Regions from separate parts of the Homo sapiens genome. Here all the other regions are linked to region 2. The links are contacts of gene promoters, found by promoter capture Hi-C in blood cells and fetal thymus (Javierre and others, 2016). All regions are on one chromosome and are shown on one strand. The core of a region is centred on a gene start or on the middle of the fragment in contact, and the rest is flanking DNA. Distances in the headings are between cores, read along the strand shown.

Evidence for each region. Contacts are between HindIII fragments. The CHiCAGO score rates a contact against its expected background, and 5 or more counts as called.
Region 1: a fragment that was not itself captured here is called in contact with the fragment with the promoter of MED7 in region 2 in 1 of 17 cell types (endothelial precursors); the score reaches 5.4 in endothelial precursors.
Region 3: a contact is called between a fragment that was not itself captured here and the fragment with the promoter of MED7 in region 2, in 2 of 17 cell types (total B cells and naive B cells). The highest score is 7.2, in total B cells.
Region 4: a fragment that was not itself captured here is called in contact with the fragment with the promoter of MED7 in region 2 in 1 of 17 cell types (neutrophils); the score reaches 9.4 in neutrophils.
Region 5: a contact is called between a fragment that was not itself captured here and the fragment with the promoter of MED7 in region 2, in 2 of 17 cell types (naive CD8 T cells and naive B cells). The highest score is 5.4, in naive CD8 T cells.
Region 6: a contact is called between a fragment that was not itself captured here and the fragment with the promoter of MED7 in region 2, in 1 of 17 cell types (neutrophils). The highest score is 7.1, in neutrophils.
Region 7: a contact is called between a fragment that was not itself captured here and the fragment with the promoter of MED7 in region 2, in 1 of 17 cell types (neutrophils). The highest score is 5.2, in neutrophils.

The regions. Positions count from the first base shown.
Region 1 is chr5:154,980,380-154,983,987 of GRCh38, forward strand. No RefSeq gene overlaps it. Among named protein-coding and RNA genes, the nearest start is that of KIF4B, 32 kb to the right of the region's middle. The HindIII fragment of the contact is 4,811 bases long and covers 1-3,608 here.
Region 2 is chr5:157,140,874-157,144,362 of GRCh38, forward strand. It overlaps MED7 (mediator complex subunit 7), which reads right to left and starts at 1,992. Exons shown (of 2, transcript NM_004270.5): 1 at 1,947-1,992. RefSeq lists enhancers at 1,660-1,709, 2,520-2,619. The HindIII fragment of the contact is 9,177 bases long and covers 1-3,489 here.
Region 3 is chr5:154,959,731-154,962,960 of GRCh38, forward strand. It overlaps MRPL22 (mitochondrial ribosomal protein L22), which reads left to right. Exons shown (of 7, transcript NM_014180.4): 6 at 250-319. Among named protein-coding and RNA genes, the nearest start is that of MRPL22, 20 kb to the left of the region's middle. The HindIII fragment of the contact is 7,858 bases long and covers 1-3,230 here.
Region 4 is chr5:154,438,761-154,442,280 of GRCh38, forward strand. All of the region lies in intron 2 of SAP30L-AS1 (SAP30L and GALNT10 antisense RNA 1), which reads right to left. Among named protein-coding and RNA genes, the nearest start is that of SAP30L-AS1, 5.3 kb to the right of the region's middle. The HindIII fragment of the contact is 1,866 bases long and covers 393-2,258 here.
Region 5 is chr5:154,915,873-154,919,090 of GRCh38, forward strand. It overlaps GEMIN5 (gem nuclear organelle associated protein 5), which reads right to left. Exons shown (of 28, transcript NM_015465.5): 12 at 2,059-2,132; 13 at 1,126-1,307. Among named protein-coding and RNA genes, the nearest start is that of GEMIN5, 21 kb to the right of the region's middle. The HindIII fragment of the contact is 1,257 bases long and covers 1,242-2,498 here.
Region 6 is chr5:159,252,345-159,255,565 of GRCh38, forward strand. No RefSeq gene overlaps it. Among named protein-coding and RNA genes, the nearest start is that of UBLCP1, 9.3 kb to the right of the region's middle. The HindIII fragment of the contact is 1,037 bases long and covers 945-1,981 here.
Region 7 is chr5:159,277,347-159,280,705 of GRCh38, forward strand. UBLCP1 (ubiquitin like domain containing CTD phosphatase 1) reads left to right here. Exons shown (of 11, transcript NM_145049.5): 9 at 892-1,008. Among named protein-coding and RNA genes, the nearest start is that of UBLCP1, 16 kb to the left of the region's middle. The HindIII fragment of the contact is 3,109 bases long and covers 298-3,359 here.

The DNA.
Region 1 (3,608 bases), core at 648-3,147, 2.2 Mb before region 2:
TCTATGTTGCAGAATTGTTTGTTTTCCTCCTCTCAGATACTCAAGAGGCTGCCAGCATAGGAGCTCTGTCTAGAGAGAAAACAGTTTTTACATATTTCTCTTTAATGGTAATAGAAGCAAAACTACTGTTGTGAAAAGACACTGGGTTTAGACTACACCATATGGCCCTGAGAGGTGTTCATCACTATAGCCTCTAATGGCTGAACTCAAAATAGCCCATATTTCTGCATTGATGGAGAATTAGCTACTGACTGCCAGGAAACACCCATTGTAGCAGCTCTTCAGCCTTGTAATTTAAAATAATTACTAATTAAATGAAAATAAAATAGAGTCCATAATAACAATAATAATCACTGTAGCATTGGTCATTACCGAAGTATTGTTTGTAGGAGTGTTACCTAGGGGAACATCGCTTGCAGAAGGGTGGAAGAACTGTGGAAGGAGCTGGGGTTTATTATTACTGCTAGGTAGGGAATCAGGACCGCTCCAGAGTGCTTGGCAACCATAGTCCTAATTTGATATTCCATCTATATTGCCAATCTCATGTTGTTTCAAGGAATTTGTTCACTAATACAGAAGGCAGCATGCCATTAAAAACCAAGGAACAGGAACAGCTGTGTGGCACTCGCCAACAGATTTATATCATTGCAGGAAACAACCCAAGCAATTACCTTGTCTTTGACAAGCATCACTCTTATCCCCATCTCAGGAAAATTGAGGCCCTTTTGCAAGAGGGCCTTTGAGTGTATATGACCAACATTAAGTGGTTATGACAGGACATATGGAATACTGTACATGGAGCCAGTTTCAGATAACTGTCCAGAGGCCTGTCTGTGTATCTAAGAAAGTAAAAGGTGGAGGCTACCTGGTTAAAGGAGGAAGACTTTCAGTTTTTATTGTTTGGGTGACCTAAAATAACATGCATTTCTTTACATGTTCATTCACCCAACAAATGTTTGAGTGCTACTATGCACCAGATATTGTTCTAGGTGCTGGGAATATTAACATAGACATGGTTGCCGACCTCAGGAATCTGACAGTCCACTGGCTAGGGAGGAATATACAAATATAGACATGTAAAAAGTACCATGGAGGAAAAGAAGAGAGTGCTTGGGGGATAGCAGGGGGACCTTTTCAGCAATGTGGCATCTGTGATGGGCTCTTTGAGGAAGTGCCATTTTTGCTGAGGCCTGAAGTCCAAGGAGAGATTAGCCAGGAAATCGAGTAGGGGAGAATGTTCAGGCAAAGGCAGTGCCATGGGCAAAGGCCCCAAATGAAGATGAACCTAGTTCACTGGAGAAACTAAAGCAGAGTGTATGGAGAAGCACAGAAACACAGAGTGGGGGAGGATGCGGCACAAGGTACGAATAGGTCAACCGACTTCCGGGACAGGTGGTCTTGGAGAGGAGTCCAGATTTCACTGTAAGTATAAAGGGAATCTTTGAAGCTGGGGAGTGGCAGTGCCTGGTTGATGTCTGTAAAAGCTCAGTCTGGTCTCTGGTAGACAATGGCCTTGGGTAGTGGGGCCTGAGCTGATGCCAGAAACCAGGTAGGAGGTCATTTAAGAATTCAGGTTGGCCGGGCACGGTGGCTCATGCCTGTAATCCCAGCACTTTGGGAGGCCAAGGCGGGTGGATGCGGGTGGATCACGAGGTCAGGCGTTGGAGACCAGCACAGCCTGGTCAGCGTAGCGAAACCCCGTCTCTACTAAAAATACAAAAAATTAGCTGGGTGTGGTGGCGGGCGCCTGTAATCCCAGCTACTCGGGAGGCTAGGCAGGAGAATCACTTGAACCTGGGAGGCAGAGATTGCGGTGAGCCGAGATCGCACCATTGCACTCCAGCCTGGGCAACAAGAGCGAAACTCCGTCTCAAAAAAAACAAAAAAAAAAGAATTCAGGTAAGAAACGACTGTCCCTTGGACCAGGGAGATGGTAGGGAATGACAGGAAGTAGACTGACTGGAAATTCATTTAGGCAGCAGCACTGACTGGGGGTGGTCAGGAGTGTGGCGGTTCCAGGGCAGGTTCCCAGGTCTCTGGCTTGAGCACAGGGTGAATGGATGTGCAGTATGCTGAGGTGGGAAGCATCAGAGGATGACTAGATCTGGATATTAAAATACCCAGATTCATTTACTGTGGTAAAATGAACATAACACAAAATTTACCATTTTAGGCCAGATGCAGTGGCTTACATCTGTAATCCCAGCACTTTGGGAGGCTGAGGCAGGAGGATCACTTAAGCCAGGAGTTCAAGACCAGCCTGAGTAACATAGTGAGACCCCCTTATCTACCAAAAAAAAAAAAAAAAAAAAGGAAAGGAAAAAAAGAGCCTTGCCATTTTAACCATCTCTAAATGTACAGTTCTACTGCATTTGTTGTGCATCCATCATTAACTGTCCATCTCCAGAACTTTACCATCTTTCCCAACTGAAACTCTGTACCCATTAAATAACTCCTTATTCCTCTTCTCTCCCTATCCCCTGGCAACCACATTCTACTTCCTGTTTCTATGAACTTGGATGCTTTAGATGCTCCCTATAAGTGGAATCATACATTATTTGTCATTTTATGACTGGCTTATTTCACTTAGCATAATGTTCTCAAGGTTATTCCTGGTTGTAGTATATTACAGGATTTCCTTCCTTTTAAAGGCTGTGTAATGTTTCATTGCATGTACATATCACAGTTTTCTTATTTATTCATCCATAAATGGACTTTCGATTGCTGCCACCACTTGGCTATTGTGAATAATGCTGCTATGAATACGGGTGTGCGAACATCTGTTCCATCCCCTGCTTCCACTTCTTTTGGGTATTTACCCAGAAGTAGGATTGCTGAATTATATGTAATTCTATGCTTAATTTTAAAATTTAATTAAAAAAATTGACAAATAGGCTGGGCATGGTGGCTCACGCCTGTAATCCCAGCACTTTGGGAGGCCACGGTGGGCAGATCACAAGGTCAAGAGATCCAGGCCATCCTGGCCAACATGGTGAAACCTCGTCTGTACTAAAAATACAAAAGTTAGCTGGGCGTGGTGGTGCACGCCTGTAGTCCCAGCTACTCGGGAGGCTGAGGCATAAGAATCGCTTGAACCTCAGAGGCGGAGGTTGCAGTGAGTCGAGATCGTGCCACTGCACTCCAGCCTGGTGACAGAGCAAGACTGCGTCTCAGAAAAAAAAATTGACAGATAATAATTGTATATACTTATGCAGCACAACGTGATGTTTTCTTATATGTGTACCTTATGGGATGATTAAATCAAGCTAATTTACACATCCATCATCTCACATACTTATTTTTGTGTGTATGTGTGGTATAAACATTTAAAACCCACTCACTTAGCAATTAAAAAATATGCATTGCATTATTATTAACTATAGTCACCATGGTGTGCAATAGATCTCAAAAACTTATTCTTCCTGTCAAGCTGAAACTTTGTACCCTTTGACCATCTATGCCTCTACATTTACTTTTTTGAGGAATCACCACACCATTTTCCACAGTGTTGTACCATTTTATATTCCCACTAGCAGTGCACAAGTGTTCTATTTTCTCCACCTTCTTGCCAACACTTAGAATTTTGTTTTTCTTTAATCATCATCCTA
Region 2 (3,489 bases), core at 742-3,241:
AGAAAAAGTGCATGAATACACAAAAAACACTTCATATTCTTCACTCAGATTCTCCAAATGTTAACATTTTCCTTCATTTGCTTTATTGGTTTTTCATTCCTTTACCCCTGAATACTTCAGTGTGTTTTCTCGTGACAAGAATGTTTTCTTCTACCCAAAGCACAATTACCAAAATCAAAGAATTAACAGTGATCTGGTACTTCAAAATACATTTTTTTTTTCCCTGAGACAGTGTCTCGCTCTGTCACCCAGGTTGGAGTGCAGTGGCACGATCTCGGCTCACTGCAAGCTCGGACTCCCGGGTTCACGCCATTCTCCTGCCTCAGCCGCCTGAGTAGCTAGGACTACAGGCGCCCGCCACGACGCCCGGCTAATGTTTTCTATTTTCAGTAGAGACGAGATTTCATCGTGTTAGCCAGGATGGTCTCGATCTCCTGACCTCGTGTTCCACCTGCCTCGACCTCCCAAAGTTCTGGGATTACAGGCGTGAGCCACCGTGCCCGGCAGAAAATACAATTTTTGACAGCTCACGTTTCATCCCACTCAAACCTTTTTAGGTGAGGAGTGCTGCTCTGTACTTTCCTACACGATGTGCATTCCTGTATTGCGGCTGCCATTTTCCTAAGGCCAACTACATGACAGGTACCATTTTTTATGGCCTCTGTAACATAATCTTCATTAACAATTCTATGAATTAAGGTTTTTGGGGTTTTTGTTGTTAGTTTTGTTTTTTGAGACAAGGGCTCAATCTGTCTCCCAGGCTGGAGTGCAGTGGTACCATCAGGGCTCACTGCAACCTCTGCCTCCCGGGTTCAAGGGATTCTCCTGCCTGAGCCTCCTGAGTAGCTGGGGACTACAGGTGCGCACCACCACGCCCAGCTAATTTTTGTATTTCTCGGTAAAGACAGGTTTTCACCATGTTGGCCAGGCTGGTCTGGAACTCCTGACCTCAAGTGATCCGCCCACCTCGGCCTCCCAAAGTGCTGGGATTACAGGCGTGAGCCACCACACGGTCCCACGAATTAAGTTCTATTATCAATTTCATTTTAGAAGTGAGGATCCGAAGTCTCAATGAGGGGAAGTGTTGCCCCAGATCAAAAGGTTAATAAATGGCACAACAGGAATTCTTATCCCAGGTCCCTTTAGCTCCAAAGGGCAAGCTCTCTTATATCCCTAAGCCGAGAAGCATCTAACTGTACAATAAGGACTGGCATATCACAAAAATTATATTTCTTTCTCTACTGTCTCTCTAGATGGAACTTTTCAAAGGTGATGGAGGTCTTATTTTTAATAAAAGCAGAGCCAAGCATCAGAGCTGGTTCTTAACTCAAGATCCAACATCTAGTGTTTGTTCTACTGGGGGAGAAGGAGCTTCACCAGAAGACGACAGACATTCCAGGGTCCCAGCCCCAGAGATTTGATTCATTCTGTCTACTGTGAATGGGCCCTAGAATGTCGCTTTTAAAACCTCTCCAGATGGACCTGACGATTAGGCTTGGGATCTACCGCCCTCGCCTGCCCCCATACCTCAGCTGTTTCATAACTGCTCCCAGAAGAAGGAAGGGCAGGGAGGGCTACTCTCATGTTACAAAGAGCCGGAGAGGGCAAATGACTCGCCCAAGGCCACACAGCTTAGAAAAACAGCGGCGCGGGGACTAGACGCCAGGTCTCCCAACCTCCACTCCGGCTCGGCGTCCCAACACGGAGGAAGCCCCGAGACTGCCACGCTTAGAGCCCCCTCCTCCAGGCTGTCCACCCCGAGGCCTCCGCGCTCTCGGAGAGACCGCACTCTCGGAGAGACTCGGGAGAGAAAGACGAAAGACCGCCTTTGGAGGCCGAACTCAGCCATGCCTCCCCAGTTCCCAGCCCAGCACAGAGGAAGCTGCGGGGTCCGGAAGAAAAAAACGCACACAGGCGGCGGCCCCAAACCGTTGCCGCCCACTTACCTCAGCTCTGGCTTTACACTGGTAGCCGCCTTCCCCTCTGCAGCCGAAACCAACTTCCGGTCTCCTCCGGGAAGAAGCCACCGACTCTGTCCTTGATTGGCTGTAAGAGCTGTCCTTTAACGAAATTCTAGCTCCGCCTCAGACCGATCCCTCGCTGTTGCGCCTACGTATGTTTGACTCCTCCCATCCACCCGTTACTGACTTTTAAAAGTCGTAGCTGAGGGTTCCGTTTCTTCGTTTCTTTTTGAATTAAGGCATAAAATTGAACAAGACACCTTATTGCTTTATTTTTTATAGACCCCTTATTGACCAGAAACAATCTTATGTTTTAATGTTTAACATGCTCTTGTAAGACTTAACGTGAATTTAGAAATTTATGACACGAAAATAACCTCCAAAAGAAACGCTTGCTATTGCGCCTGCGTATATTCCACCCCCTTCCCCATTACCACTCTTTTACTGACTTAGTCGCTGCTGGTAGTTCCATTCCTTTTGTCCTTTTTTAATTTAACGCATACAATTAAGACGTCTTACATACAAATTCGAAAATATAGACATGCAGGGTTTTTTTGTTGTTTTTTTCTTTGAGACGGAGTCTTTCTCTTTCGCCCAGGCTGGACTGCAGTGGCGCGATTTCGGCTCGCTGCAACTTCAGTCTCCGGGATTCAAGCGATTCTCGTGCCTCAGCCTCCCGAATAGTTGGGGTTTCACCTATTTTTTTTTCTTTTTTTTGTATTTTTGGTAGAGACAGGGTTTCACCGTGTTGGCGAGGCTCATCTCGAGCTCTTGATATGAAGTGATCCGCCCGCCTCGGCCACCCAAAGTGCTGGGATTGTAGGCGTGAACCACCACTTCCGGACTCCCCCATTTTAAATCCCTCGCACGTATCAATTTATTTCCTGAAGAAATCCATCTACGTTGAGCATAACCCAATCCAGCTTTTCTCCTCACCGCTGACCCCAATGTATCCTGCACCAGTGACTTCCAATGGTCGTTCCCAGTCCTCATTTTACTCCATCTGTCAGCAGCATTTGGCACATTTGATTAATGGATTGCCCCAGGACTCAGTTCTCCAACCACTTCTCAGTCAGATATCAGCTGGATGATTACATGCAGGCCCTGGAACACCGTTTCCTCTGCACTTCAGACCCTCATATCCAGTGGTGACAGACATCTTTCCCCAGTTGCACTTTACTCAATTGCAAATGTTCAATCGAAGGAATCACCTTTTTCTCCTTTCTCACATACCCCACCGAAACTACCATACCAGCCTTTTGCATTAGATCTATTTAAAAATAAGTAAATAAAGTTCCAAATATGACTGACCACCGTTCCCACTGCTATGGTCCTATGCCATGCCACCATTATCTCTCACCTGGACTTCTTTGATTTTTTGTCCTCCCTTAGTCTATTTACCACACCTTCTTAAAATATAAGACCGGTCTTATCACTCCTCTATTCAAAATCCTCCAAGGCTTTCTATGACTTTTAGAATAAAATCTGACATCCTTCCCCTGGCCTATATCACAGGCCCTACAAAATT
Region 3 (3,230 bases), core at 233-2,732, 2.2 Mb before region 2:
CTTTATAGCTTACACATGTCATTTAAAACTTAGTAGGATGGGCTGTGTTCTATGCATTTACACTTCTTGGTCTAAGGCAGGAAAGCTCCCTTCTCCTTTGTACTCTTATCATTTGATATTGTCTTTTTAAAATTGACTATGGAAGCATGTGATTAGCAGTCATAGTACAGAGATAATGAGAGATGAGAAACTTAATTCCATTTTACTTCAGGTTTAGCCGTATAAATGCTTTTCTTTTTCTTATTTAAGGTTCTCTTAGAAGCACAAGATATGGCAGTGAGAGACCATAACGTGGAATTCAGGTCCAATTTATATATAGGTAAGATTTTTAATATTCTTAGCATTAGAAAATGTCTTCAGTAGTAATGCCATGTTTTTTATCTAACAACAGTCTTTAATATCTAACTCCTCAGGACTTGGTTTGTCAGTGAAAATTGCTAGTAATGGCTTATTCTTCAGCTGTATGCATGCCAATTTTAATTTAGTGTAAATGACAATAACTGTACTGTTTTACCTGTTCTGTAGTGAGACTGAGATCATAAAGCCAATTGCTAATAATTATTAAATAATAGATACCAAGACTGGGGTACATAGAGTGGTACTTTAATTGTAATATTATAACAAATAGTATTAACACATTTTTAAAGTTGTTTGTCAACCAGAAGGAGGTAAATAATCACAGGTGCATTTAAAAAATTTTTATTTATAATGTGCCAAGCCAGATGCCTAATCCATAAAGGTGTCCTGTAATTTAACCTTACAGTTATCAAAATGGAAGGTCTGTTGAATTGTAAAAGCCAAGGGGCCTTGGAAGGCTCAGATGACCCAGATGTGTTTGTTCCACTTTGTTACTACATCCTGAAGCATTAGCTCTGCTTTTACATGCTTGTTCCACATCAAATTAAATTAATATAAGTTAAAATGCTTTGGGAAGCATGATGTGCTGTACAAATGTAAGGAATCTTTTTGCTGCAGACCGTCACACAGTTATTTTCTGAGAAGGAGATTAATGTTTATTACAAAGCTCTCTTGCCTCCTCCCAACACCATGGGAAAGTGGAGCAGTGGTTGGAGTTATTATTTTTTTCTCACTACAGCAATTACTCCTAACCTCAGCAGTTTTATATTCAAACAAAGATGTTGATGTTGAAGCAAAGTTTTCTCAATCTGCCATACCAACATATAAAGATTATTTTACTTAAAGCTATTTTAAATTCAAGATATGGGGAACATCTACTCTCCAGATGGAGGAGAAAGGGCTGAATCAATACAGGGGGAATTAGTTGTATTTTATAATTTTTCAACAATTAGAGTAAAAAAAAAATTATCTAAATTCTACTTTTTCACATAGCCTCTGTGCTGATTAGGTTAAAATCTCAGTTCAACTCACCTGGCATTGATGTTGGCCACCACACCTCCTGAAATTCAAATTAGTTGATTTTCAGTTGAAATGCTTTATTTTAAAGCTGAATCTTGTATAATTTTATTTTGATACATGCAAAGATGCAAAGGGAAATCAAAATGGCAACCCAAGATGCAGGGCCATGGTAGTTAATCATAAGCATTTTCTTCTGGGAGCATTATGAATAAATAATGTTGGAGAGGTCTTGGAACCATTGGAAGGGATGAGGAGCAAGACCATTTGCTTAAAACCTCTTGGTGATTCTTCCTGCTCTGTGACTCTGAATATCAAATCAAATTTAATTAATTTTATGCAGTTTCACAGGGATGTGAGATTCGTAGCTGATAGACTTTCTAATGGACTTCAGATACAAATGAAATATGATTTGTCTTTAAGCCTTTTTCAATAACTGTCTTTAAATCCTTTTCAATAATTATAGTAAAGAGAGATAGGATAAAGAGCTTAATCCTGTTGCTCCAAATGAAGGAGCAGGGTCCACTGTTGCCATTAAGCAAAAACATGCTTAACCAATCCTACATAAATGACCCTTTATTTTATCTTTTTTTATTTTTGGAGATGAGGACTTGCTCTGTCACTCAGGCTGGAGTGCAGTGGTGTGATCACAGCTCACTGCAGCTTTGAACTCCTGGTCTCAAGTCATCTTCCTGCCCCAGCCTCCTGAGTAGCTGGGACTAGAGGCACGTACGAGCACACTTAGCTAATTTTAAAATTTTTTGTAGAGACAGAGGTCTCGCTTAGATGCCTATGCTGGTCTTGAACTCCTGGCTTCAAGCAGTCCTACTGCCTCAGCCTCCCAAAGTGTTAGGATTACGGGCATAAGCCACATTGTCTGACCCTTTAATCCAGAGTTCTTTTGCACATTTCTGCTGAAAAATCTCTGCCTTACCTGTACTGTCTTTTCATCTACTTCTGTGTTGATGACTTAAGTAAGGCTAATAAATTTGGATTTACATTATGATTTTTAAAATTTTTCATTCACTAAGTATTTTGATGCCTAATTCCATAATCAAAAGAGATGAGTTCCCTCAGGAAGAGTATGATGTGTCAGACATTTTATCCCTGTATTTGCCAAGCTGCTTCTTAAGAATCATCTTGAGGTTGTTATTTAAAATATAGATTCCCAGGCCTCGGCACAGACCCACTGGACTTGAAACCCCAGTGGAGAGGCCTAGGAAGCTGTTTATTTAATAAACAAGTTAATAATAATCAGTTGTTTAATAAACTATTGATTCTTAACCATAAAATATGGGAAACTGATTTATCTTACTGTGTTCTTGGAAAAGGCCTAGACATTTCATTCCATAGACTTCTGTTAGAGTTTTGAAAAACTAGTTACTTATTGGCTACTATTTTGGTTCAGCAATGGTTCTTTCAGTACCCTGAAATAAGTATAGGCATTTTAAAGGAAGTGCTTTTTTGATAGCATATGTTCTCATTATATGGTAACTCTTTCAAATGCCTGTCATTGGTGTAAAGCTAATACCTGGTGTTGCATGACCACAGATTTAGAAAGTTCACTTCCCTTTCAAACTTATAGTGATGACTAATGATACTGTGAATAGGCCTTAACAAGTGGACAGGGACTAATAAAATGTCTCTGCTTAGTGATTCATGGCATCTAAAGTGAATCACTTTAGGGAAAGTGATCAACTGACCTTGTACATCAATCTTATTGGCTGAGAGTGATGAAGGTGGGAGCGGAGGGCTTCTAATGTTACAATTTCAAGATTTGTATTTACCTAAATACTACTAATAGGAAATATTTGCTGTGTGTATATATATTTACTTACTTATTTATTTATTTTGAG
Region 4 (3,520 bases), core at 76-2,575, 2.7 Mb before region 2:
TCTTGTATAAAGATAAGAACAAAATCTTGTTATTCCATTTTAAATCTAGCAATTTCTTGTGTAAAGATAAGAACAATCACTTTCACTTGTTCTTTGATTACTGTTAATTCTTAAGTTTAGTATATTCAATCCTCCTTAATATTTAATAAGACTTACCTCCTTAATCAAATTTCCTTAGACACTTAAAACTACAATTATCAATTTAATATGCCTGATTTTCTCACTTTAAATGCCCAATAGGGCAGACTTACAAATCTAAAAAGCAAAACCTTTCTAAGCATTTAAGCAACTGTTGTAAATTAATTACCTAAATGTATAAATGTAGCAAATCAGATTCACTTGGCTATTTCAAGAACCTTAAATCCTACACAAAGCAGAACAAGGATCATAGAAGCTTCTGTTCTGTATTCATTTCTTCACTACAGAATATTTATTCCCATTTCCTTTCTGGAGTTACAGATTTACTCCCCCAATAAAGAGACCAGAATTTTTCCCAAATATTGCTAATGGCAACCAATCTATTTCACTTTCAAATCTGTCGTTTTGCACACAAGTCTTCAGATATTTATTGACGGGAGACATTAGCATATGGTGGTTGTAAGGAAACCTAGTATCAGCTAGGGAAAGGATATGGAGAGAATGCAAGTGTACCCAGCCCTGAAGGCCAATACCTAGACATGGGGTGGAGCATGTAGAGGCTATAGAGGGAACTGCCCTAACTTGGCAAAATAAATTGTGTATAACCCCTTATTGTGTATAACCTCTTAATTTGGGGGGAAGGAGATTTTAAAGATAATCCCAGCAAATGCTGTCACCATATACCTTCTCAATCCTAATAGCCACTAATCACTGTGTGTGCTTGGACTTGTTGCTCAACCTTGCTGAACTCAAATCCGATAGGCTTAAATAAAGGATTGGCTTCCTAAGACCCTTTCTAAGTCTCACAGCCAGTGAGTCTAAGTCAGGGATCACTGTAAGCAAAAGAGTAGATATAAGAAAATACATATGTTTGAAAGAAAGTGAGTAGGCTAGACTAGAAGAGGTAATTGCCTCCAATGAAGATTTATTACATACTTTAACCTTTAAAGCAGGGTGTCTTAAACTTTAAGGTGCATTAAGAATCATCCATAGATTAAATTAATGTGTATTAAAATGTAGATTTCAGAGCCTCATACTCTTTCCACCAAGATTTTATTTAGGAGGTCTGAGATGAGGCCTGAGATTTTTGTAATTTTTTTTACAGTTCCCTATGTGATTGTGATGTAGAGCTAGGTTTGAAACCTGTAAATCTTTCCTTTAAAGACTGGGTGATACTCTGTTGGAGTCAGTACCAGTTCTTGCAATGCAAGCTGCAGAGAACATTGTTAAGATTCAGAAACAGCCAGTGCGGTGGCTCACACCTGTAATCCCAGCACTTTGGGAGGCCAAGGTGAGTGGATCACTTAAGGCCAGGAGTTCGAGACCAGCCTGGACAACATGGTGAAACCCATCTCTACTAAAAATACAAAAATTAGCCAGGCGTGGTGGCGGGTGCCTGTAATCCCAGCTACTCAGAAGGCTGTGGCAGGAGAATCGTTTGAACCCAGGAAATGGAGGTTGCAGTGAGCCAAGACTGCGCCACCCCATTCCAGCCTTGGCAACGGAGTGAGACTCCGTCTCAAAAAAAAAAAAAAAAATTCAGAAACTTGAGAAATGGCAAAATGCTGAGGCTGCAGTGGTCCCTGGATCAAAAAACTACAGGTCTTTGCAGCCCAGATTAGTCAGTGTTCTCCAGAGAAACAGAACCAAAATTAACCAAGACACACTCCCAGAATTTAAGAGATGGGGAAATTCTAAAAAGAGGTATAGCAGAGCAGCTGGTTGGGCTCCATATACATTCCACCCATCTCCACGTGTAGCAGAGCCCTCTGTTTTCACCTGAGCATACAGCCACCAGGAATAAGGGCTACATTTCCCAATGTTCCCCTCCCCCGTTAGGTATGGCGAAATTCTGGCCAAAGAGGTACAAGTGGGAGGCTCACCTACAACTTCTGGGAACTATCCTTAAAGAGCAAGGGTGAGCCCTTCCTCTGCCTTTCCCCCTTCCTCCTGGCTAGAATGCCTCAGTAGATGGGAGTCCCAGCAGCCACCTTGCTTAGTGACGCGACCTTGGGAATGGAAGCCAAACATGGCAAAGCAACAAGAGAAGCCTCGGTCTCTGATGCTGAGGAAAACAATCTGATCACCTCTAGGATTCCTGAAGGTGAGAGAAAAATGTAAGCTTATTTTTGGGTTTTCTGTTACTTGCTAAACCTAATTATGACTAATTAAGCCAATAATAGTATCTAATATTTATTGAGTACCTAATATGTGCAAGGCACTTTTATATCTAATAGTTGGTTTATATCTAATAACTCAGACAGTCTTCACAACAATCCCGAGAGGTTACTATCATCCCCATTTTACAGATGAGGAAACCATGGCAGACTAAGGCCATGTAATTTTCCCAAGGTTCCCAGGCTAGTCAGTGGCAGAGCCAGGATTCCAGCATAAGCTGACTACATCTAGATTTATACCAACCATTATGCTGTACTGCCTCTTGATTCCAGAGGCCAAGTCATCCATCATCCATCTATCCATCCATTCAACAAATATTAATCAAGTGCCTGGGCACTGGAAACTATGATGAGCCATAGAGACAGTTCCCTGTCCTTGCAGAACTTCCAGTCTCAGAACAATGTGAAAGGAAAATGAATCTCGGGACACCAAAATCACTAAGGCAAAGGGAAGAGTCAAGCTGGAAACTGCATCAGGCAAACCTACCTCTTATTTTATTCCTAAGTTAGATAGCTACAAAGATAAAAAAGCTACAGACCTCCCTCACAATTTGCCCACAAGGAAATTCCTTGTGGGCATCAAGATCTTTACCCTAAAACAGTTCTGTTGAATTTCACCCTGGCAATGTAAATGGATAGCTTATCTTCATAGGTGTGGGACAAAGGACAGAACTCAAAGTCATCCCTCTGCTCACCTGAGACAAATGAATATCTGATTGCTTCTTCTGCCCTGTTGTTTATGTAAAAATGCAGATCCACTGAGACAAAGGCATAAATGACTATTCCTCTACCACCCACCTCACCCCTTCCCCACATGTAAATTGTATATTCAGTGAAACGCTGAGCAAAGACTCAAAAGAATGCAACCATTTGTCTCTTATCTATCTATGACCTGGAAGCCCCAGCATCAAGTTGTCCTGCCTTTCCAGATGGAACCAATGTACATCTTGTACATATTGACTGATGTCTCATGTCTCCCTAAAATGTATAAAAGCAAGCTGTATCCCAACCACCTTGGGCACATGTAGTCAGGACCTCCTGAGGCTGTGTCACGTGCACGTCCTTAGCCTTGGCAATATAAACCTTCTAAATTGAGACCTGTCTCAGATACTTTTGGTTCATGCCAACATATCTATGAGTACCTTACAGAACCCAAGGGCAAGCTCAACTACCAGGCCCTGGGGAACACAGGAGGCAGGACCCAC
Region 5 (3,218 bases), core at 620-3,119, 2.2 Mb before region 2:
TCTAGAATTTTCTATACAAAAATTATTCATTCATGTTCACGAAGATCTATGTATAAGGCAGTTTATTGTAATACTACTTAAATTGTAAAAAAAAATAAATAATTTGAATGTCATTTAATTGTGGAATGGATACATTATGGTAAGCCCATATAATGGAATGAACAGGTAACTGTTTTTTTTTTAATTTTTATTTTTTGTATAGGTGGGGTCTCCCTACATTGCCCAGGCTGGTTTCAAACTCCTGGTCTCAAGCTATCCTTCCACTATGGCCTCCCAAAGTGCTAGGATTACAGGTATGAGCCACTGCGCCTGGCTGACAGATATTTGTTAATAACAGCAAGATAGATCCTTGTGTACTGACATAAAAAGATGTCCATGATAAATATTGTAAATTTAGAGAAAAAAACTGCAAGCACTATATATTATATATAGCAATTTATTTTTAGCTAGGAACAGAAGATTATTCTTTCACACAAGTACACAGAAGTGCAAACCTATTAATATATACTAACATGTATACATATGTAGGCTATGACTTTATAAAATCTAGAGAAAATATATAGCAAGCCAATAACACTGGTTATTGAATGATGAAATTTTAGGGGAAAACTTCATTTTTTTTTCTTTCTTTTTTGAGATAGGGTGTGCTCTGTAACCCAGGCTAGGGTGCAGTGGTGCAAATATAGCTCACTGCAGCCTCAAACTCCTAGAATCAGATGATCCTCTCAGCTCAGCCTCCCAAGTAGCTGGGACTAAAGGCATGCACCTCTAACCCGGCAAATTTGTTTTTTATTTTCAATTTTTTGTAGAGACGGAGCCTCACTATTTAACAGGCTGGTCTCAAAATCCTGGCCACAAATAATCTTCTCGTTGTGGCCTCCTAAAGTGCCAGGATTACAGGTGTGAGCAACTGTGCCTGGCCAACTTCATTTTCTGTTACCATTTTTGTCATGTTTGAAAGAATTTTAAAATAAGATGAATCTATCACTTTTGAAACAGAAAAAGTAGTAAGAATAATACTTATTTTATTATAATGTCAAAAATAAAGTAAAAAGTAACAAAGATTAGAATGGAAAGTAGCTGAACAAACGATATCATCCCCAGTATGAAAGAAACCAAAGTTACCTATGACAGTCTTCAGGTTGTGCACGTAAATGACTGCATTGTTGGAGCCAGAGGCCATCAGATAGCTCAATTCTGGCTGGCTGCCATGCTCATGATGCCAGCTAATGGTATTCACAAGCTTGTGATGCTGTTGGATAGTACAGATCAGTTTCAGGTTGGGAATCTGAAATATTTCTATTGATCTGGAATAAGAAACACATCAAAACAAGAAAGATGGATGATCAAATTACAAGTTACAATGCAAATAGTAGCTCCCTCATTCCGTCAGTCAAGGAAAGATGAGGTGGAAAAGGATAACCCTTTCTATCACTGCAAAGGTCATTCTCTCATAAAAAATCAAGTATAAAAAGTTATTCTCCAAAAAGTATATTTAGCTTTTAAAAATTCTAGCAATATCCTAACAATTCTTTTCTTAAAAAAATTAATTTTTAGAAATTTTAACTTTCCACACTACCTCAGTGTAACAATCTCCTAGCATTCTAACAATGCTTGATAAAATTGTGTTCATCAGGCATTAATGACAAATGATGATAGGGAGAAGCTAAAATAATTAACAGATCAATGGCTGAATTATGACTGTGTTACTATGATTAACACTGGTCAGGATACAGACCTAAAAAGCATTTCTGACTAGGCTTACTTTAAAAAAATGGAGATTTATGCAGTTCAACATAGGAGGTGACCATTTTGTGAGGGACAAGACAGCCAAAATACAGTGTAGCCAAATACTCTCAATGGGCTGAAAATATCTAAATAATTCTGTAGTTCTCAAAGACACAAGGCACTACTGGATCAGCGGAGGATATCAAGAATAAATCAAAATACCAAATACAACTGGGCCGCCCCAGCTAACATTACAGATGGCATTAGTCAGCTTGTGATCAAATATATGTGCGATTGCAAATTTTTTATCTTAAAGAAGCAAATACATACCCATCTTCATTGCCAAGAGCCATGATTTTGCCATCTGCTTTCCAACTTATCTCTGTGTGTACAGGCAATTTGTACTAGAAAGCAAAACAAACCAATCTTGACTATATACATATCTCACAAATCAGCAATGACAGCATGAGAAAAAAAAATCCCTAGAGTTTAAAAACGTTTTAATTATACAACAGCTATTCTTGTAAATAATCTACATAATTAGTAAAAGGATTACTAAGAACATGCATTCTAATTCTCATTTCCTAACTGGGCCAAAAAAACAAAACAAAAAAACCCCCAAGGCCAATAAGTACTAAATGTTTACAGTGCTTAACCTTGTGAAATATATACTTAATTAAACTGATCTGTGCCCATCAGCTTGGACAATGTGGGGACCATGAGGCCTTAAAGAAAACTATATACACTCTCCTTGTTTTCTATCCCTTCAAAGCTTCTTTCCCTGAATCATTTCCCTCCCATATCTATATGCTGGTATTCCCCAAGGCTGCCTGGGCCCTCTTCTCTTGTTAATTGTCTCTTTAACCCACCTCATACATGTCCACAGCTTCTTCAACTATCTTTATTGTGAAGGGATTCAAAATTTCTATATCCAGCTCAGACTCCTAGCATGAACCTCTGATCCACACATTCAAGTGCCAATAAATTAGAAGAGACTTAGGAACACGAATTTTGTCTCTTATTCATTGCTGAATGTTAATGTTTAGATAAAATTAAAGACAATGAGGGAATATAATCAACAATATAACCCAATTTATAACTAAATGTTACTTTTATACTAGCCATAAAAGTAATGAGCAATAATATAAAAATGCTCATTTGGGCTGGGCATGGTGGCTCATGCCTATAATCAGTACTTTGGGAGGCCAAGTGGGGTGGATCACTTGAGGCCAGGAGTCCGAGATCACAGCCTGGCCAACATGGTGAAACCCTGTCTCTACTAAAGACACAAAAATTAGCCAGTCTTGGCACGTGCCTGTAATCCCAGCTACTCAGGTGGCTGAGACATGAGAATCACTTGATTCCAGGAGGTGGAGGCTGCAGTGAGCTGAGATCGCACCACCGCACTCCAGCCTGGGCGACAGAACAAGGCTCTGTCTCAAAAAATAAATAAGTAAATAAATAAAAATACTCATTTGAAAGGGTAAGGA
Region 6 (3,221 bases), core at 213-2,712, 2.1 Mb after region 2:
AAGCTCAGGCAGAACCTGATCCCTTAGGCAGAACTGATTGGTTCAGAGAAGGACATGTGGCCTAAGTGAGGCCAATAAGATTCTATCTCAGGATTTTGGAATTTGGAGCTGAGCAATACAGAAACTAGGAGTCAGAGTCATATGAATGGCAGTGTTCTTGAGAGAAGGTCTATGGATCTAGAATTTATTGTTGAGGATCTTGGACTCACCTTGACTCCTGGTTCAACGACAGGCATAACTGTGTCTGGTACTGTGCTCTTTCTAATACTGCTCTCCTGCTTCCTCTCCTCAACTCCCTTTAGGCTCAAGCTAGCATGTTTAAGTTTCTGTTATTTAAAACCATAAATAATATTTCAAAACAAGTCACTTGAGGTAATATTTATACAGTAGCAAGAAAAAAATTACTACTTTGATGTTTTCAATAAAATTCTACATACTAAATGTAAATTTTCTATAAAATTTATTTAAGTATGAATGATGAAGCTCTGAAAATTCCAGGAGAGATATATGCAGATATCAGGGAAGTAATAATAGCTGTCAATAAAGAGGAAGAACATGAATTTTCCATTTGGTTTTACGGATTACGTGATGCTTATGTTTCTCATTTTGCAAACGGAAGATTGATGGAAACTGTCAAAATCTAGCCCAGGCCCATAGGCTGTTGTCTGAGAACTATTAAACCATAGAGGCTCTGAAACACAGAACGTATTTATCTTTTTGTCTTTTGGCTATTCAATAAACTCATTTTTACAAATGGAATTGAGGTCAGGGGAAATTGATTGCCTCAAGGTCAGGAGGGCAATTTTAGGCAAGGCTGCTTCTAGAACCCTGTCTAATGCTCTTTGGAAATAAACACATTGTTAAAGAAATGTCTCCTGAAGATTGGAAGCATAATGAATAAAACAAGGTAGCCTAGTCATTACAGATAGCTTATTGGTAATCAAAGCTTGCCTTGTTGTGTTGTAAATGTTTAGATTGTAACTGTCTAAACATTTCATTGATATTTTTTGAAGCATGGGAGATATTAATTTATTCACTTATGAGTCACTGTGGATGTAAAAAAACAAATAAATGAAATTACTTCATAATGTTAAATACTACAACATAACAATTTGATGTTCTTTTTTAAGATTTCATAGTGAATGTGATTAGGCAGCAATATATTATGCTAAAATTTTCATCTCAGAAATAGTTTCATTAGCCTAGAATTTGTGGGTTGGGACATTGTAATTATTATTCCATAAGTAAGAAGATACTATCTCTAATGCACAAGACTTTGGATATAAAAGAGAAGCACACATTTTATTGTTCCTATTAAAACTGTGCATGGGACATCTATGGAAGGTCTGTTCCACCCTTTGACTGTGGGAAAATTTCTACTCTATATTCTTCTCTATAAATGATAATGAAATTAAATGAATGTAGATATTCTGCCACCCTGCAATCTTTACTAACTTTGAAGTTTTCATTTTGTTTACTAAATAAAGAAAACTAATATATTAACCACCTGTGTCAAAGAAAAGTAGAATCAGTTTTTTATAATGAGTACATATTATTATTATTATTATTTTGTATTTTTGAGACGGAGTTTCGCTCTTGTTGCCCAGGCTGTAGTGCAATGGCACAATCTTGGCTCACTGCAACCTCTCCCTCCTGGGTTCAAGCTATTCTCCTGCCTCAGCCTCCTGAGTAGCTGGGATTACAGGTGCCTGCCACCACGCCCAGCTAATTTTTTGTATTTTTTGTAGAGATGGGGTTCACCATGTTGGCCAGGCTGGTTTCAAATTCCTGACCTCAGGTGATCCACCCAACTCAGACTCCCAAACTGCTGGGATTACAGGCGTCAGCCACAGCGCCCAGCCGAGTACATGTTATTTTTATAAATGAGAGAAAATGCATTTTACTGTTAGAATAAGTGGAATCAAGTCATGATAATGTTTTTCACTCCTGTTGGTAACTTTTCAGCCCTATATTTAGGTTAAGCTTGCTATATCATATTTATTCATTTATTTTGTTTTGTTTTGTTTGCTGTGTCATATATAGATATGTTTTGTTTTCAAAACGAAAACAAAAAAATGCCTTTTTTTCTCATTGTAAAAGTAATACAGAGATTTCCAGTTCCAAGACAGTTCCAGTTGCACGTCTCCCTATTCTTCTGCTAAGTATAGCTAAAAATCCTGGACAGTATATGTAAAATAAATATAAGGGGACTCTGGAAGGTAGAAATAAGGCAGATTGGCTATTTACCTTAAAAAACATGCTAGCAAATTCCTTGGGATTTCTTTTTGTTTCATATATCCCAGACTACGTACTGGCAATACAGGCAACCTAGAAATGCCAGGGGGTTCATGTAACACTCCCCCATCCCTACCCCAAGCCTGCTGTCTCTAGACAAAGGACCAGGAAAGGAACAGCCTGGTAAGGCAGAAAACATTTAGTTAATAACCACATATGCAGAAAAGTTACCATGGGAGGCCTAAGCCTGCCATCCTTAGAAATTCTTGCTTGCAAGATTGGTCTTTGGCTGGCATCTGGGAACATCCTACAGTTCCTATACAGATATGAAACTTTCCCCAAATGATAAGAATGGCTCACTGAGACTAGACTGTTGGCAAACAATGTAGCTTCTGCTGCACAGCTGCTTTCCTTCTGAGAGTCTGCAGTTTTGATAGGTGCAAGACAGTGGGTATCTACATGATGACATAGTTTGTCTGTGTCCCCATCCAAATCTTATCTTGAATTGTAATTCCCATAATTCCCACATGTCAAGGGAGGGTCCTGGTAGGAGGTGATTGGATCATCGGAGTGGTTTCCCCCATGCTGCTCTCATGATTGTGAGTGAGTTCTCATGAGATCTGATGATTTTCTAAGTGTCTGAATTTCCCCTGCTTGCACATACTCTCCTGCTGCCATGTGAAGAAAGTCTTTGCTTCCCCTTTACCTTCTGCCATGATTGTAAGTTTCCTGAGGCCAACCCAGACATGTGGAACTGTGAGTCAATTACACCTCTTTCCTTTATAAACTACCCAGTCTTGGGCAGTTCTTTATAGCAGCAGTGAAAGGGACTAATACAATAATCAACTGTCCCCAAAACCTAGGGCACTGATTCTCTAATAATCTTCCTTTGTAGACACAATTCATGCCTGTTGTCACAGTTCCCTGTTAACAAAATTAAGTGTGCTCTGTATAATTTCCCTTGGAGAGAATCCTTAGAATCTTGG
Region 7 (3,359 bases), core at 602-3,101, 2.1 Mb after region 2:
AAGTTACAACTTTTATCACTATTTATTTCTTACCACTTAATCTCATATATTTATTATTACATTCTGTTCTCATAATACCGTAAGACTTCTGTCTTCAGCAAAAGTAATTTTCTAGAAATTTAAAAAATTTTCTGAATGTGTAATACATTTGCATGACTAAAAAAATAGTAAAGTACATAATGAAAAGTCATCTTTCACCTGGTACCTAGCCACAATCAGTGTTATTTCCTGTGTGGTCTTACAGAGACTTTACACAAATACCAACAGGTAAGACTATATAAGAAATTATTTATTTGAAGCTTCAGTTTAAGAATTCAGAAATAAGAGTAAGAATTTGTAAAATATGGTGCTTCCGAAGTTAAGCAATCAAATTCCCTAGAAATTATGCACCTGTGCCACTGAGTTAAAGACAAAACGAGTTTTTCCTCTATAAAATATTCAAATTATTAATTGAAAAAGCCAAATACAGTTTTTTTTTGACTAGGGTGTTCTAGTTTTGAAAGCAGACTCCATGTGACTCCCAAGCTCTGAGAAGGAATGTGTTAACCAAGGAAGTCATGTGACTGCATAGCAGACATCTAAACAATTACTTTGGATTTTTAAAAAATTAAATAATTTATTTATTTTACCCAAAATCTTCACGTTAAAATTATGGAAAGTTTTATAATGGGTTTAGTTCAGTTGGACATGAACAAACCTTTCAGAAGTTTTAATATTGCAAAATGCATTGTGCTTTAAAGTGGGTTGCATTTAATGATTAGCTCACACCTGTCTTACAGGGGGAAAGGAACACTTTGGCATTGTTCTGCAGGGCAGTTTGCAGTATTCCTGCTTTTAAGACAGGATGAAATATTGATAAAATTTGAGTTAAATGTAAACTTTTATTCTAAGGTAAAGCCTCTTGGTGTTATATGGGGAAAGTTTTCGGAGTTTTACAGCAAGAAAAACACCATTATGTTTGATGACATAGGGAGAAATTTTCTAATGAACCCACAGAATGGACTAAAGGTAAGACATACTTTTACTTGTTATGTGCTCATGTAATCTGGGCTGTGTGGTAGAACTTTTGTAGTAAGCACTGTTGAATTTCATATATTTTTGGAAGTACTGTATTCTTATGTCATAGGCGAGAAAAGTTTAAGAATAATTCATATAGAAATTGAACTTTGTCTTTTTTGCATTGATGTCTCCATAGTTAGCTAGTTCATCCAAGTATTTGTTTGTTTATTTATTTATTTATTTTTGAGACGGGATCTCACTCTGTCGCCCAGGCTAGAGTGTGGTGGTGCGATCTCGGCTCGCTGCAATCTCCACCTCCTGGGTTCAAGTGATTCTCCTGCCTCAGCCTCCTGAGTAGCTAGGATTACAGGCACGCACCACCACACCCAGCTAATTTTTGTATTTTTAGTAGAGACAGGGTTTCACCATGTTGACCAGGCTGATCTCAGGCTCCTGTCCTCGTGATCTGCCCACCTCGACCTCCCACAAGTGCTGGGATTACAGGCATGAGCCACTGCGCCCGGCCCAAGTGTTTTATTTTTAATTAGCTCTGTGGGAGCAACATGGGCTTCCCAACATTGACTTTTAGCATCCAAAGTGAAATCATTAGTTATTTTTTTAGGTATACAAATCTTGGCATTTTAAACATTCTGGTTAGCTTGAGAAATGGCAGTAAGGGTACTTTGTTTTTTCTTTTTAAACTGAAACTAAAGACGTTTTTGAAAATTCCTAGACGGCAAGTACAGATCTTAGAATTAGACATTGCCAGAGCTAGAAGGAACCACAGTCATCTCTTGCCTACCTTCTTAACTTTGGAAACAGTCTGAGGTTGAAGAAGTTCCTGACTTGCCCAAGATTGTATATGTAACTGGCTAATGACAGAATTTGGGTTAGACTCTAGTGACTTGGTTCCTAGGTCAGTGACAATCTTAGCATGCAACTGCATGCAGTCTTATGTGACATTTCATCCTGGTAACAGTATAAAATTGGTAAGAGTGAAATTTGAAATTTAAAAGTTTCTGGTACCCATAGTTGATTACATGTTGGCGCAATATGAAAATGGAAAAGATAGCTCTATACTATGGCACTATTGCACATGGAGTCTCCATTCGAAGTGGCAGTCCTGACACTGAGATGTTTTCATTCTCAGTCCTAAACTTTTCTACTAGCTGGGTCCTTGGTAGTTTTAAAAGACAAGAGAGAAAAACTTAAAAGTACATTTTTTAAACCTTTCTTACAGACTGTTGATTTGAGTTTTTGTTTACAATGAGGATATTTTAGGGAAAGAATACTAATCTAGGTAGTGAATTGCCATAAGTATAAAAACTGTTGACTTGGAAGAAAAGTGGTTATGTTGTCCTTAATGGTTTCTGTTTAAGGCTTGGAGAGAAGTGCTTTTCTTAATATGTACTGCACCAGGTAAAGGTACAAAAATGTATTCTTGAGTCTTGAGAAGAAATGTGGTTGATGTAAACCTAATTGTTTGTGAAACGAATGGTTATTACCTGTTCTTGCAAGGAGGTGATCCCATGATGGTCAAGGAATAATTTTGGAGGAGACGTTTAACTTTAAAAAAAAAAATACAATCATTAGTTTCATGTTTGTTTAAAAGAAACTTTGTTTTCCTAACCAACATTTGAGCTCCATTCATCTCTTGATGCAGGGAGAGATGTTATTGTAAATGTCTAGTTCTTTATGTTACTTTACAGTAGGGTTTTTAAAAGACTGTACTCAGTAGACCCACTGAAGGAATTCCTAAAAATACGTATGTCCCCATCCCCTAAATTCTAATTCCAGAGGTAGATTTAGACACTCCACAGGCTGTCCTTGTGTGTCTTTTATTGAAAACCTCTTTTTTATAAAATTAATCTACCCAAGATAACACTTCATGAAAACCTCTTTTAAGGTTAAAGATTAAAGGTTAAGATTAAGATTAAAGATCTGCCCACGTCGGCATAGAAACAGGTGGGGTTTTCTGACAGGGTCTTGCTCTGTCACCCAGGCTGGAGTGCAGTGGCATGATCAGAGCTCATTGCAGCCTCGACTTCCCTTGCTCCAGTGATCCTCACATGTCAGCCTCCCAAGTAACTGGGACTACAGGCGCACGTTACCACACCTGGCTAATTTTTGTATTTTTGGTAGAGACAAGGTTTCGCCATGTTGCCTAGGCTGGTCTCGAGGTCCTGCACTCAAGCGATCCACCTATCTCGGCCTCTCAAAGTGCAGGATTACAGGCATGAGCCACTGCGCCCAGCCCAGAAAGAGTTCTAAAATGGAGAAATATCCTCAAATGCTGTGTTTTGTTATCATGCTTTCATAATGCACTTGGTAGAAATCTCAAAGATTTCATGTAGATCTTA